Linked DNA regions of Homo sapiens: all the other regions are linked to region 3. The links are contacts of gene promoters, found by promoter capture Hi-C in human tissues and cell types (Jung and others, 2019). All regions are on one chromosome and are shown on one strand. Each heading gives the region's core, a stretch centred on a gene start or on the middle of the fragment in contact. The rest is flanking DNA. Distances are from core to core; before and after follow the strand shown.

Evidence for each region. Contacts are between HindIII fragments. The study calls those that stand out against the background at their distance.
Region 1: a contact is called between a fragment that was not itself captured here and the fragment with the promoter of KRTAP27-1 in region 3, in 1 of the 25 tissues and cell types used here (dorsolateral prefrontal cortex).
Region 2: a contact is called between a fragment that was not itself captured here and the fragment with the promoter of KRTAP27-1 in region 3, in 2 of the 25 tissues and cell types used here (aorta and dorsolateral prefrontal cortex).

The regions. Positions count from the first base shown.
Region 1 is chr21:31,026,839-31,031,479 of GRCh38, forward strand. It overlaps LOC105372774 (a long non-coding RNA gene), which reads left to right and starts at 3,257. Exons shown (of 3, transcript XR_937657.2): 1 at 3,257-3,440. The HindIII fragment of the contact is 5,506 bases long and covers 1-4,641 here.
Region 2 is chr21:30,875,505-30,879,953 of GRCh38, forward strand. No RefSeq gene overlaps it. Among named protein-coding and RNA genes, the nearest start is that of KRTAP11-1, 3.9 kb to the right of the region's middle. The HindIII fragment of the contact is 4,508 bases long and covers 94-4,449 here.
Region 3 is chr21:30,334,603-30,338,943 of GRCh38, forward strand. KRTAP27-1 (keratin associated protein 27-1) reads right to left here and starts at 3,092. Exons shown (of 1, transcript NM_001077711.1): 1 at 2,411-3,092. The coding sequence starts at 3,066. The coding sequence ends at 2,443. The HindIII fragment of the contact is 14,979 bases long and covers 1-4,341 here.

The DNA.
Region 1 (4,641 bases), core at 1,282-3,781, 690 kb after region 3:
TCCTGAAAAGGTAAGTTAATTCCTGAAAAGGTAAGTTTCTAAGAATAAAAGGAGAGACGCTCCCCAGTTCATTTTATAAAGCTAGTATCACTTTGTATGAAAAACTGGCAAGGGCATTATAAGAATGAAAAATTACAGACCAGTCTTCCAAATAGCAATGTAAAAATCATATATGTGTTTACATGCATGTGTGTGTTTTTATATATGCCAAAATTATATATATTTATATATGGTTCATTCAGAAATAAAAAGTAAAATGGCAAGCCATTAGTAGAAAAAGATATTTATATAGAGAGTAAATATATTTATTTATATCTTTATATATGACAAAAACATACATTGATAATTTAACATTTTTAATGTAATGTCTATTAACCAGTAAGAAAAAATAAAGACTATCCAATTAAAGTGGGAGGGAAGACAGGAAAATAGACCTGATCTAGACTTCACAAATGAGAATATTAATGATTTATCATAGCATGGAATGAAAATGATGAAGTGTGCTGAGAATATGCAAATACAATTCAAGTGCACACAATTAAAATCCCATATCATGATTAATCATAGCAAATGTGTGTGTATTCCTAGCAATAAATTGAGCAAAATATGCATAAGACTATGATAGACATATTAATTATTAAAAGACTTCAAATACAAGATATACCATGTTTGTGGATTAGAAGCAGCAATATAAAACAAGTCAGTTCTCTGCAAATTCATGATAAAGGCATTTACAGTCTACGTTGCAATGAATTTGTGTGTATGTGTGTATATTTAACTTGTCAAAAGAAATTTCCAACATATATATGGAAAAACATAGAGCCAGGACAACCAACACATTTTAAGACAACAAGTTAGTGAAGCTTGCTTTACCAGATATCAAGAATTCTTACAAAATGTTTACATTCATGACACTGTAGAATTATCACAGGGAAAAGCAACAGATCAATGAAACAGACTTGAAACTTGATTTATGTCAGAGCTGGCATTGCACACCAGTGGGAAAAGAATAGACTTTAAATAAACATTACTTAGACATTGTTATTGGTTTGGAAAAAATTAAATCAAAGCCCTTTTTAACCTCTTGCACAGAAACAGATTCCAGATAGATTAAAGACATAAATATGAAAGGCAAAACTATACAACTTTTAGTCAAAATATAGGACAACATATTTGTGATATTAGGAGAACGAAAAAAGTCTTTTTTTTTTTTTTTGGTAGATATGGGGTCTCAATATGTTGCTGAAGCTGGTCTCACTCCTGACCTCAAGCAATCCTCCCACATTGGCCTTCCAAAGTTCTGGGATTACAGGCAGGAGCCACCACACTGGGCCAGGAAAATTGTCTTAAGATGCAAAAGATGCAAGTCATTTTTTAAAAGAGATAAATTAGCTAAATTAAAATTAAGGATTTTTGGTCCTAAAAGATATGAAATATAAAAAGACAACCCACAAACTGGGAAAAAAAATGTTTGCCCTAGATGTTACTGGCAAAGGAATAGTAACTGAGCAAAGAACTTCTGCAAATCATTTTAAAAAGCAAATGACTGGTAGGAAACTGAAACAAAAAATGTAAACAGTTCTTCAGAGAAGAGAAAATCCAAGGACCAAAAAAATACAAGTAAGATTCTTAGTTTTGTTAATCGCCAAGAAAACAAAAATTCAAACCACAATTAGGTACTATATTATGACTTCCAGACTGACAAAAGTTAAAGAGCCTAACAAAATCTAATGTTGGCAAGGATATGGAATTATCCTTCTGGTGAGATTATAAATTGAGACAAGCATCTTTGAAGACTGTATCAACCAGCAAGTGTTTCTTCTAGAAGACAGGTGCATATTCATAGCAGTCCCTTTCATAATAAAAATAGCAAAAATCCAAATGTTCATCAAGGATAGCAGAGGTAACAAACTATGTGAGAGTCATGCAATGAAAACACTGCCTTCTAGAAGTGACAATTAATAATTTACAGGTAAATGTAAAAACATGGAGTATCTCAGAGACATAATGTTGAACTAAAAAAGGAAATATCATAACACATACACTATAATTTATCTATATAAAGTTCAAAAATATACAACATTAAATAATATGTTACTTAGGGATATACCGTCTGGGAAAACTAAAGTTACAAAAAGAGAGAGATAGGCTGGGTGCGGTGGCTCACACCTATAATCCCAGCACTTTGGGAGGCCGGGGCGGGCAGATCACAAGGTCAGGAGATCAAGACCATCCTGGCTAACATGGTGAAACCCTGTCTCTACTAAAAATACAAAAAATTAGCCAGACGCGGTGGCGGGCACCTGTAGTCCCAGCTACTCGAGAGGCTGAGGCAGGAGAATGGCGTGAACCCAGAAGGCGGAGCATGCAGTGACCCAAGATTGCACCACTGCACTCCAGCCTGGGCAACAGAGCTAGACTCAGTCTCAAAAAAAAAAAAAAAAAAGAGAGCGAGAGCGAGAGATAAACACAAGTTAATTCAGCCAGGGTGGTTTCCTCTGAGTAGAGAGGAAAGGGAATGGGACAAGGACTTCAATGGTAACAATAATTTTTTTTTTTTTGGTAGTGATAGTGGTGGTAACCAGGTGAGATACTCCAGATATTCACTGTATCATTAGTCTTTATATTTTATGCATATTTTACAAGTATTTTGGGGGTTTCCTCAACATTGAATTTAAAATTTTTTAATGAATTGTCTTCAAGGATTGTCTTTCAAGAAGTAGTGGCATATGGCCGGGCGCGGTGGCTCACGCCTGTAATCCCAGCACTTTGGGAGGCTGAGGTGGGTGGATCACGAGGTCAGGAGATCAAGACCATCCTGGCTAACACGGTGAAACTCTGTCTCTACTAAAAAAAAAAAAAAAAATACAAAACATTAGCCTGGCATGGTGGTGGGCGCCTGTAGTCCCAGTTACTCAGGAGGCTGAGGCAGGAGAATGGTGTGAACCCGGGAGGTGGAGCTTGCAGTGAGCCAAGATTGTGCCACTGCACTCCAGCCTGGGCGACAGAGCGAGACTCTATCTCAAAAAAAAAAAAAAAGTGGTGGCATAGATGGACAAAGAGTTGAAACCTTACCTAAACTGGATACTCTGGCTGAAATATGACAGCAGGGACAAAAAGGATCAGCTGCAGAGCTTTAGTCTCAGAGGAAGTGGCATAGCAGATCGAAAACCAAAGGAGAGGCTCAGATGTAATAAAACAATCTGGGGATCCAGTTACTAGAATGAGGTCATAGGAAAGGGCTAGATCACACAGAACAAAGCCAGAACCCAACCAGGGCTAACACTCCAAGTGAACCAGCACTAAGGCTGAATCATTTGAATTATTGTCCTGAGTTCCTTTGTCCCAAGGAAAAGCATGGATCCCATTGCTGTTGTACAGGGTTGAATATTAAAGGAGGAGCTTCAGAGAATCAAGCCTTAAACGAGAAGTCTGCAAAGGTGAGAAGCTAAGCAGGTCTTTATATCATTGTCAAGAAAAAAAGGAGTTTCTTCCTATTTTACAGGTAGAGGTCCCAAAATAAGTTAAAGTGACTTATCTGAAGTCATTTCATCATCAGTTTGGAAATAGAAATAGAATCCATCAGTCTTAGTTCTTTTTGTTGATGCCATCCCTGGTCTACACTCCTTCATTCATAAATTACTTAGCAGCTACACACACTCTATGCAGGAGGCAGGCCATGATTCACAGGCTTAGGTGTTTCAGACAAGGTTTTATTTCTTTATTTTCAGTTCCCATTTTTTTTTTGGCTCTAAAAATAGCAGCTGTGCTGAACAGTACTCAATGGAAGAAAGAAAGGAACTCATTTACAGAGCAGAGGACAAAAATAGTTTACCCAGCATTTATACTATGCTCTTTGGAGCTCAGGGTCAAAGATTTCAGCAGGAGTTTTCTTTAGTAACCTAAATTTACTTACTTTCTTTTACTACATCAAAATGGTTTTAAGTGTCTATTCACATAACAATGAATGTGAGGGTCTATCCAATGCCAACAAGTTGGATCACTACTGAGGTGGAAATAGCGTGGCTTAAACAAATCGACAGCATATAATTGAGGTCACAAAAAGATGTTTTGCTGGCAAAACCCAAGAGGCTGTGGTAATAAAGTATGCCTGAAAATGAGAGTAGAAAAGTATTTCCCTACGTAAGTGTTACAACTGCATCAGATGTTAAATTCACCTTCAGAATTATCTTGCTCAAAAGAGTAGACCTCTGCTTCCTAATGGAAAGAAGAAATTTTAAAATAAAACACATTTAAACAAGCCATATCTATCTACCACCAATTTTCTTTCTTTTTTTTTTTTTTTTTTTTTTTTTTTTTTTTTTTGAGACAGAGTCTTGCTCTGTTGCCCAGACTGGAGTGCAGTGGTACGATCTAGACTCACTGTAAGCTCCGCCTCCCAGGTTCACACCATTCTCCTGCCTCAGCCTCACGAGTAGCTGGGACTACAGGTGCCCACCACCACACCTCGCTAATTTTTTTTGTACGTTTAGTAGAGACGGGGTTTCACCGTGTTATCCAGGATGGTCTCCATCTTCCTGACCTGGTGATCCGCCCACCTCGAACTCCCAAAGTGCTGGGATTACAGGCGTTGAGCCACCACGCCCAGCTGATCTGCCACCAATTTTCTGTATGACCTCA
Region 2 (4,449 bases), core at 1,098-3,597, 540 kb after region 3:
AATCTATATATCACTAAACAAATTCTACCCTAGACCACATCCAGTTCTGGATTAAGAGTAATCACCTGTCTGGGAGGGTCGCTTTAGCCTGGGAGGTTGAGGCTACAGTGAGCCATAATCGCACCACTGCACTCCAGCCTGGGTTACAGAATAAGACTCTGTCCTAAAAATAAAAATAAAAAGAGTAATCACCTGTCTTTCTTACAGGAACCAGCAACTATCATTAACATAATTATTACATATTCTTATCGTATCATCTGTTTTAATAATAGGGCACAGAACAACTTACACAAAGCAATCATATTTGCTTATAATAGCTTTTTACTTGTGCTAATAGGTACTGGTTCCCAATCATAATTGTTTCATACAAATCATGTCTAATTAATATAATAGATTATATTATAACAATTTGAGTTTTGAAAATTTCTTTGAATATTAGCCAGGCACAGTGGCTCATGCTTGTAATCCCAGCACTTTGGGAGGCTAAGGTGGGCAGATCACCTGAGGTCAGTTCGAGACCAGCCTGGCCAACATGGTGAAAACCTGTCTCTACTAAAAATATACTCACAAGAAAAATTAGCTGGGTGTGGTGGCGGGTGCCTGTAATCTCAGCTACTTGGGAGGCTGAGGGGGGAGAATTGCTTGAACCCAGGTGGCGGAGGTTGCAGTGAGCCAAGATCACGCCACTGCACTCCAGCCTGGGCAACAGAGTGAGACTCCATCTCAAAAAAAAAAAAAAAAAGAAAATGTCTTTGAGTATTACTCTAGGCATCTCTCTGAACATGCCCATCAGGCAGTTAAACATAGGAAAGCACAGTTTACAAAAGAGATTGCAGCGAGAGATCCTAATAAGTAAAGCTTTCAGACTTATAAAGGCAAACACAAAGTCTTTCAAATAGGAAGCCATTTACAAACTCGTAAGCACAGGTAGGAGTTTTCAGAAAATCTAAAAAGACCAAGCCTAGGTCTTTAACAAGGTTAAAGTCGAAGATCAGAGCCCACCTTTATCTATCTACATGGATAGCTTTAAAGGGACTGTTCCGGCCTGTGTCCCAATGTGTCGAGTATTCATTCCTGCTATTTGACCAAATCTCAATACCTTCCTTTGAGTCTTACAAGCTTTAGATCTCTCAGATTTAAAGTCAGATATTCCAAAGGTAGGTTATACTTTCAGCTTTCAACATAGTTTCATTATAAGCAAGCAACATATAAGTAAAAGGATAGAATATCCATCCATCCTTCACTGATAACTTGCATGATGTAGCATCTTGGTAAGCCTTTATATGCATTGGAGGAGAAAAGTAAGGCATTTGGAAGTAAAATGTGAAGCCCTAAGGGGAGCAAAGCATATAGGAGAAGATATTGAAGAATCAGTGAGTTTGTCCTTCACAACCCAACTATGAGCTTCAGGAGAGCAGGAATAGTAATGGCTTTGTTTTCCACTGCATAACCAGCACCTCGCATAGAAAGTTGAAACATTAGAGGTATTCTTTATTTATTTATTTATTTATTTTATTTTATTTATTTATTTTTTTTTTTGAGACAGACTCTCGCTCTGTCGCCAGGCTGGAGTGCAGTGGCGCAATCTCGGCTCACTACAACCTCCGCCTCCAGGTTCAAGCAATTCTCCCGCCTCAACCTCTCGAGTAGCTGGGACTACAGGCAAGCACCACCACGCCTGGCTAATTTTTTTGTATTTTTAGTAGAGACGGGGTTTCACTATGTTGGCCAGGATGGTCTCGATCTCCTGATTTCGTGATCCACCTGCCTTGGCCTCCCAAAGTGCTGGGATAACAGGAACATTAGAGGTATTCTAATGTTTGTTGACAGAAAGTCAGAAGGGAGAGAGGGAGGAAAGGAGATGAAGAGGGAAAAGAGCAAAAGGAGATGGTGAGGGAAGGTGGCAGGAAGGGAAGAAGGGAGGGAGGAAATGAAGGGAGAAAAAGAGGGAGAAATTTGATTTTGAGCTGGGACATTGAGATAATGTCCCGAAGACAATGGCCAAGAGATTTCAGTCTGGAATGGAGAAAAGTTCTGGAAATAGTGACATGATATTGTGAATTTACTTAATGCCACTGAATTGTACACTTGAAAATACTTAAAATGACAACTTTTATGCTACATATATATTTTACCATGATAAAAAAAATTTTAATTAGATTTAAGTTGTTATCATCACTAGAGTATAAATGTTCTCTGTGTCCTCAAACTTTCTATAAAGTGTTAGAAACACAAATGCCTTGTGTAAGTGGATCTTAGTGAAAATCATGGAAAGGAAGTGTAAATATCTGAATCACGGTAGTCTAAACAGAAGCCAACCATAACATAGGAAGAAAATTCATGAAATGAACTAATTCTTCTCAAGTAGAAGCTCAGAGCCCAAGAAGGTAAGAAAAAAGTTAGACATCTTTCCCCAACCTGTCTACTCTCAGATTCCTCGGAGATGTTGGGAGCAGCCAAGACTTCCACCAAACAGCAAAAGGAGATAAGAGAGCTATTTTTGTTTCAATGTTAAATGACAGGATGGCTCAGCTGATACTTGGGTTACATGTGTATTATCTCAATTTACTCCTGAAAACAAAGGTGTAAGATGCTACCATTATCTCCGGTTCACACACAAATGAGCTAACTAAGGCTCAGAAACGTCGACAAACCTGCATCCAAGTGGCAGAACCAGGAAAAGTTACGCTCCTTCCCTGGAGCTATGAGATATTGGATACAAATTGCATTTCTAGGCTGTAAATGAAGAGAAAGAAATCATCACTGCCCTGTCTTTTAAAGGACTGTTCTCAAAAACAAACTTTGAAACTTTACAATTTATTATGTAATAAGGCAAAGAATGGAGAGAACTTCCAAAGTTCAAGTACAAATAGAATAGCTCTAATAGCAAAGAAGATGATTCCCAAAACAGAAATGAAGGCAAGAAAATAGCTTTGCAAGACAGCTACCACAGCCTTAAATGTTCACATTGTCACAATAAATAGCCCAGGCAAAAGCTTGCTCATATCTAACCATAAAGGCTATGTTCTTATATATTATTAATATAGAAATGTTATCTATTAGAGCCAAGTAACCATCTAAATAAAAAGATAAAGAAGGTACCTCTGTCTTTATATTTTTTATTGAAATCTAGAAAGCTGAAAGTTAAAAAAAATTAATCTGTCATCTTCTTAAAAAGTGGGAATTTTCCAAATTATATGTGAAGTGACTAAAATAAACAACAAATGAGAATCATGTAATAACAGTTTTGAAAGGGCAATGTAGAGTTCCCCTAGTGATTTCTATTTTAAAATAAATCAGAGCATTTCCAAAAGCCAGAGTGCTTATTTTAAAAAGAGAGGGCATGAAACTAATATAGACTAAAAACCATGTCTTGCTTTGTTGAGATATTACCATGAGCCATGCATACTAACATAATCCAATTAGGGGAATCCTAAGAGTAGAGCCATCAATGGGAAAAATTAAAAATATTGCATCTATATGGAAATAATCTATATATTTCACCTCTGAAAAACCATCAGAGAAATAAGAAATCCATTTTGCACTGACAACACAGAGTGAGATCAAATTCTCCACAAGACACCAGCATTTCTGTTATGAAAAAAGACACCCATTGTTGATGGCATGTGTACCTCATATGTCTCCATTTTGTGTAAAAATCATCTGCTTTTGTATCTCCTTGAGCAACTCTGAAAAGAAAATCAAGATGTTTTTCTGGACAGAACAAATGAGAAGGGCAAAAGCAAACCAGTTGGTAGCCAGTCTTCACTTCCTTAAAAAAAAAAAAAATGGCAAAAGGACTTAGCATGTCAACCTCCACCTATCCAGATGGTTTGATTTATTTAGTACACGAGTTCCAGGGAAGAACGAGCAAGAAGTATGACTAAGTATTAATATAAGCCAACAGGTTTTTAAGCTTCTTTTTAAGTCTCTCCTGCCCAGATTTACTAAAACACAGAGCTTTAATTTTCTCAGGGCTCTGACTCGAACAGTCAATTGGTATCCCTCGTTGGCAGATTCTACTAATCCACTACCATGAGTGAGGTGGGTATAAAGCTAGAGCCACTCTTTTGATGTGATTAATTTCAGGGCCTGAAAAGTGCCTTCTCTTTCTTTCTCCTTCTCCTTCCATCCCGATTGATCATGGAGGAATCTTTTCCAAAGGTTTCTACTGTGATCCTCTAACTAAATAAGACTCAGCACTTCTCAGTGATCCCACTGCTCCCTTCCCTGCACATCTTTCTGAAATACCTGGTTTTCTGGGTAACTTTTCTTTTTCCTAAATGTAAGTTATTCCATGTGCCCCTAGAAATGGAAGGAGACGTAGAAGACAAGTTACTCCTAGAAATCTCATAGCCCTGGCCTGTAATCCCAGCACTTTAGGAGGCCGAGGCGGCAGATCACCTGAGCTCAGGAGTTCAAAACCAGCCTGGCCAACGTGGTGAAACC
Region 3 (4,341 bases), core at 1,842-4,341:
GTATATATATGCATGTGTGTGTGTGTGTGTGTGTGTGTGTGTGTGTGTGTGTATGAAGAGAGAGAGAGAGTGAGTGATTTATCACGAAGGATTGGCTCACACAATTATGGAGGCTAAGAAATCTCATGATGTGTCACCTGCAACCTGGAAACTCAAGGAAACCAGTGATATAATTCCAGTCCAAATGTGAAGATCTGAGAACCAGGGGAGCCAATGGTATAAATCCAGTCCAAGGGCAGGAGAAACCCAATGTCTCTGCTCAAGTAGGCTTGCAGGAAACATAAACGGGCACATTTCTCCTTCCCCGACCATTTGTTTTATTTAGGCCCTCAATGGACTGAACGATTCCCATCCACATTGGAGAGGGCCATCTACTGAGCACACTGATTTAAATGCTTATCTCCCTTGAACACTCTCACAGACACACTCAGAAATAATGCTTAATCTGGGCAGCCCTTGGCTCAATCATGTTGATACATAGAATTACCATGGCACCCACCCTCAGAACTAACTGGTAAATTATCAGTAGCATTAGGTTTGCCATAGATTCAGAGATACTTGCCAATTTACTTCAACTAGACAGCGTTTAAGTTTCTTAATTTTCTCCCTTAGTAGATGATGCTGCCTGCATCTTCCAAAATACAAAACAGCTAATCTCTCTTTTGTTGGATGACTAGCTTTCCTAATCTCTCATGGATTTCTGGGTTTATTTACAAATCCCCACTACCTCCCCCATACCAAGTCTCTGAGCTAGCTGAGTTGCTAAATATGCTATATACATGGTAATTTTTTAAGCCTTACACTTTCAATTTATTAACTTATTAAGGCTCACAGTAGCCCTATTATTATCCTTCACTTTTGAAGTTGAAGAAACTGAGGTGGTTAAATAACTTGCACACAGTCACACAGTTGGAACTTAAACAGCCATCACTAAGCAAAGCTAAGATTCCAGCTCAAGGAAATCCATATTCAGAGTTCATGCTCTCAACCACTACCTTATTTTGCCCTGAAAAAATGTGAGATCCAAGGCCAGGCATGGTGGCTCACGCCTGTAATCCCAGCACTTTGGGAGGCCGAGGCAGGCGGATCACGAGGTCAGGAGATTGAGACCATCCTGGCTAATGTGGTGAAACCCGTTTCTACTACAAATACAAAAAATTAGCCGGGCATGGTGGCAGGCACCTGTAGTCCCAGCTACTCGGGAGTCTGAGGCAGGAGAATGGCGTGAACCCAGGAAGCAGAGCTTGCAGTGAGCCGAGATTGCGCCACTGCACTCCAGCCTGGGTGACATAGCGAGACTCCATCTCAAAAAAAAAAAAAAAAATTGAAAGATCAATTTAAGAACACACCAAAAGTTTCAGAATAGCTAAGCTACCTAAATAAAATTAATCAATTTCAAACATCTGACTCTATGGTCTTATGATGTTCATATGAGTATATTTTCCATCTTCTGTTGACTACCACCATGAGTTATTCTTTTCTGGTTCACACTATAAAAATTATAACAAGAGGATATGTTCTCTTTTCTTCTAAATATTTATACTATTTTCATTAGGTAACAAACGAAGAAACAAAAAGCCTGTAACATAACACCTGCAAAAGGATTGAATAAAAATAATAGTGTGACAAGTCCAAATTTTGCTTCCAAAGAAAGCAAATTTATTTAATACAAAGAATATTTTCCAAACTCAAAAAATACTTAAGAAATAATGAAAACAGGAAAAAAACAAACAACCAAAAAAACAACGGGAACGAAATGAAGTGAAGATTCTAAACTTCAATTCATTCTATTTAAAGGCTTCTGGTTGCTACGTGGTTATAAAGCCCATGGAGGTGAAATTCAAAATTACCTTGCTCTATTCGAACAATAGACTTAATCTTCTAGTTAATTTGAGAATGTTGTGATTCAATGGCTAAAATAACAGATGGCCAGTGAGTAGGCCTGGATTTTAGTTGTGGTTCTGATGTTATTAACTACTTGGGCAACCTCTGATAGAGTTGAACCTATCGTAATTCACAGGACTAGGTAGGCTTTTAGGTTTGGTTCCAATATTTTATGAATTTCTGAGACTAGTAGCACATTACTTAATAAACCAGATCCAATGCTAAGTATTTCCAAAGAAAACAACTTGCAGTTAAAGTGTGATGTTTCCTTTAAGTATTCATGTTATTTCCTGGCTACAGCTCTTATTGCTTAATAACAAATCGTATCCTACTGCTCTAAAATAGCTAGCATGCTTTCCAACCCCAGATTACCACTAGACATACCCAAAAGAAAAACAAGAAAAAAAATCTTGTCTTTGGAGACAGTAGTAAAATAAGACATGTTCATTTACTAACAAACACACACAACATTTTTTATTTAAAGAAATACAAAATATCTAAGTATCTCAAAAATAAATTCATCCAAATGAGAATATAAGCCATCTCCCCTACAGATCTTCACTTACTAGGCAATTGAGAACCACCAGTAACACAGCAAGTTGGTTCAACTCCTGGAGAAGATTCCAGGAGTTGTGGCTCAGGTGCAACATTGACCAGAGGTCTACAGGAACTGGATTCAGGGTTCTGAGACTGACACTGACATTGGCTAGATGCACGTTCCAGAGTTTCGAAATTTTTAGACTTAGAAGTCTTGGGTGGGCAACTGTTTCCCTTGAGGCTTGCAGGTTGGCAGCTCTGGGCTACAAAACCCATCTGCTGAGTGCTTTCTGATTGGCAAGGCTGAGAAACACAAGCCAGCCCTGCTGAAGAACTTTCTGATTGGCACGCTGTCCTTTCGCAGGGCCTGGAATTGGAGTAAGTAGTTTGGACAACTCCGGGGAAGCAGTTACTTTGCACACAGCTATCGTCTGTGAATAAGTCCTGTTCACAATTGGTCATTTGGCAGCTGGTGGTTTCATTGCAGGTTTCTTGAAAGTTGTCCAGGAAACAGGTTCTGCTATGGAAGCTGCTGGGCAAACACAATCTGTCTTCAAAGGTTATAGGATTAGTGCCATGTGTGATGGCAGAGAGTGGTGGGGCATTGTGGAAGCTCCTGAGTGAATGGCAGTGGCTATGAGGCATATTGCTAAAAATCCTTAAAGATGGTCATAAGGACTCAACATGCTGAGTTTGAAAATTAAATTCTTTGGTGCGGCGATTATATACTCAGAAACCTGGGTGTTGGCTTCTCAAGACTTCTTTGCAACTCATTGCTTAAACTAATTTGAAGGATAACATCTCATTACCACTTTGGTTATATATGCAGATGATGTCTTATTAACAAAGATGTAAGTCCATTTTGAATCTTCAAAATGGCTTTTATGTTAGCTCCAAAGATGACTCATTCAAGGTGGGGTTGGTCAAATAAGAGTCTAAACCTGTCCAACCAAGCTAACATTTTTTTTTTTTTTTGCCACCATGACTCTGCACATTGGTAAGTGGACAATGAGAAATGCATGAGGCAGTGGCCAACTGAATACTGATTAACATTTAGCACTGGTTTTGAGAGCTGCCAATGTAGCAGAATGTGGTAATTTGATGTTCAAGACATTTAAAGTTAGAATTGGATCCAGGTTGAGCCCAATCTCATTCCACTCAGATATTGTTCTCTCCAGTGGACCAGAATGTGAGAGGACTTTGTGATCACATTCCTTCTCAGTGTTCATGCAAAGTACTGAGTGTGGCCATTGCCCAATAAATACTTGTCTTTTGCCTAACATTTCGTTTCCCTAATCTCCTTGAAAGCCAAGTTTAAATGCGTCCTTTTCCTGAAGTCTTCCCCAATCTTCCCATTTAGGAGTTATTTCTTCCTTTTCTGAATTACTAATGGATTTAATTCCTTTTTTCTATACTTGACAAAGTGGTGTGTTTACTTGTGTTTGTGCTTCTCAAAGGTTGATTATTTTCCTTTATAATGAACCTTCTTCAGATATTTTTCATCTTTATTCTGTGCTTTTTTTATTGACTGCAGACAGATGATCAGTTCCTATGTTTATCGCATTAGGACACCGTTCTTAGCATAGTTTCATACTCATGGCACAGAGCCAACCAGCACAATTTCTATAACATATTCTATAATATATTTGGCTCAGCTAATGACAATAAAATAGAAGTATAGTCTTAGTGCACTAACTAGACTCCCTTTCTAAGGTCTGAAGAAGCCCAAGAACATTCAGCAATTCTCAGTAATTCTTATGCAAACACTTCCTTGAAAGACTGAGGATATTATAAATTTAAAAGGGCACATCTGAATACTTTCAGCTTTATAGGCTGCACACTCATCTTGTATACAATACCTTTGTAACACACGCAAGTCATTTATAATTTTGAATAACCACACTTGTATGTTTAAAGATC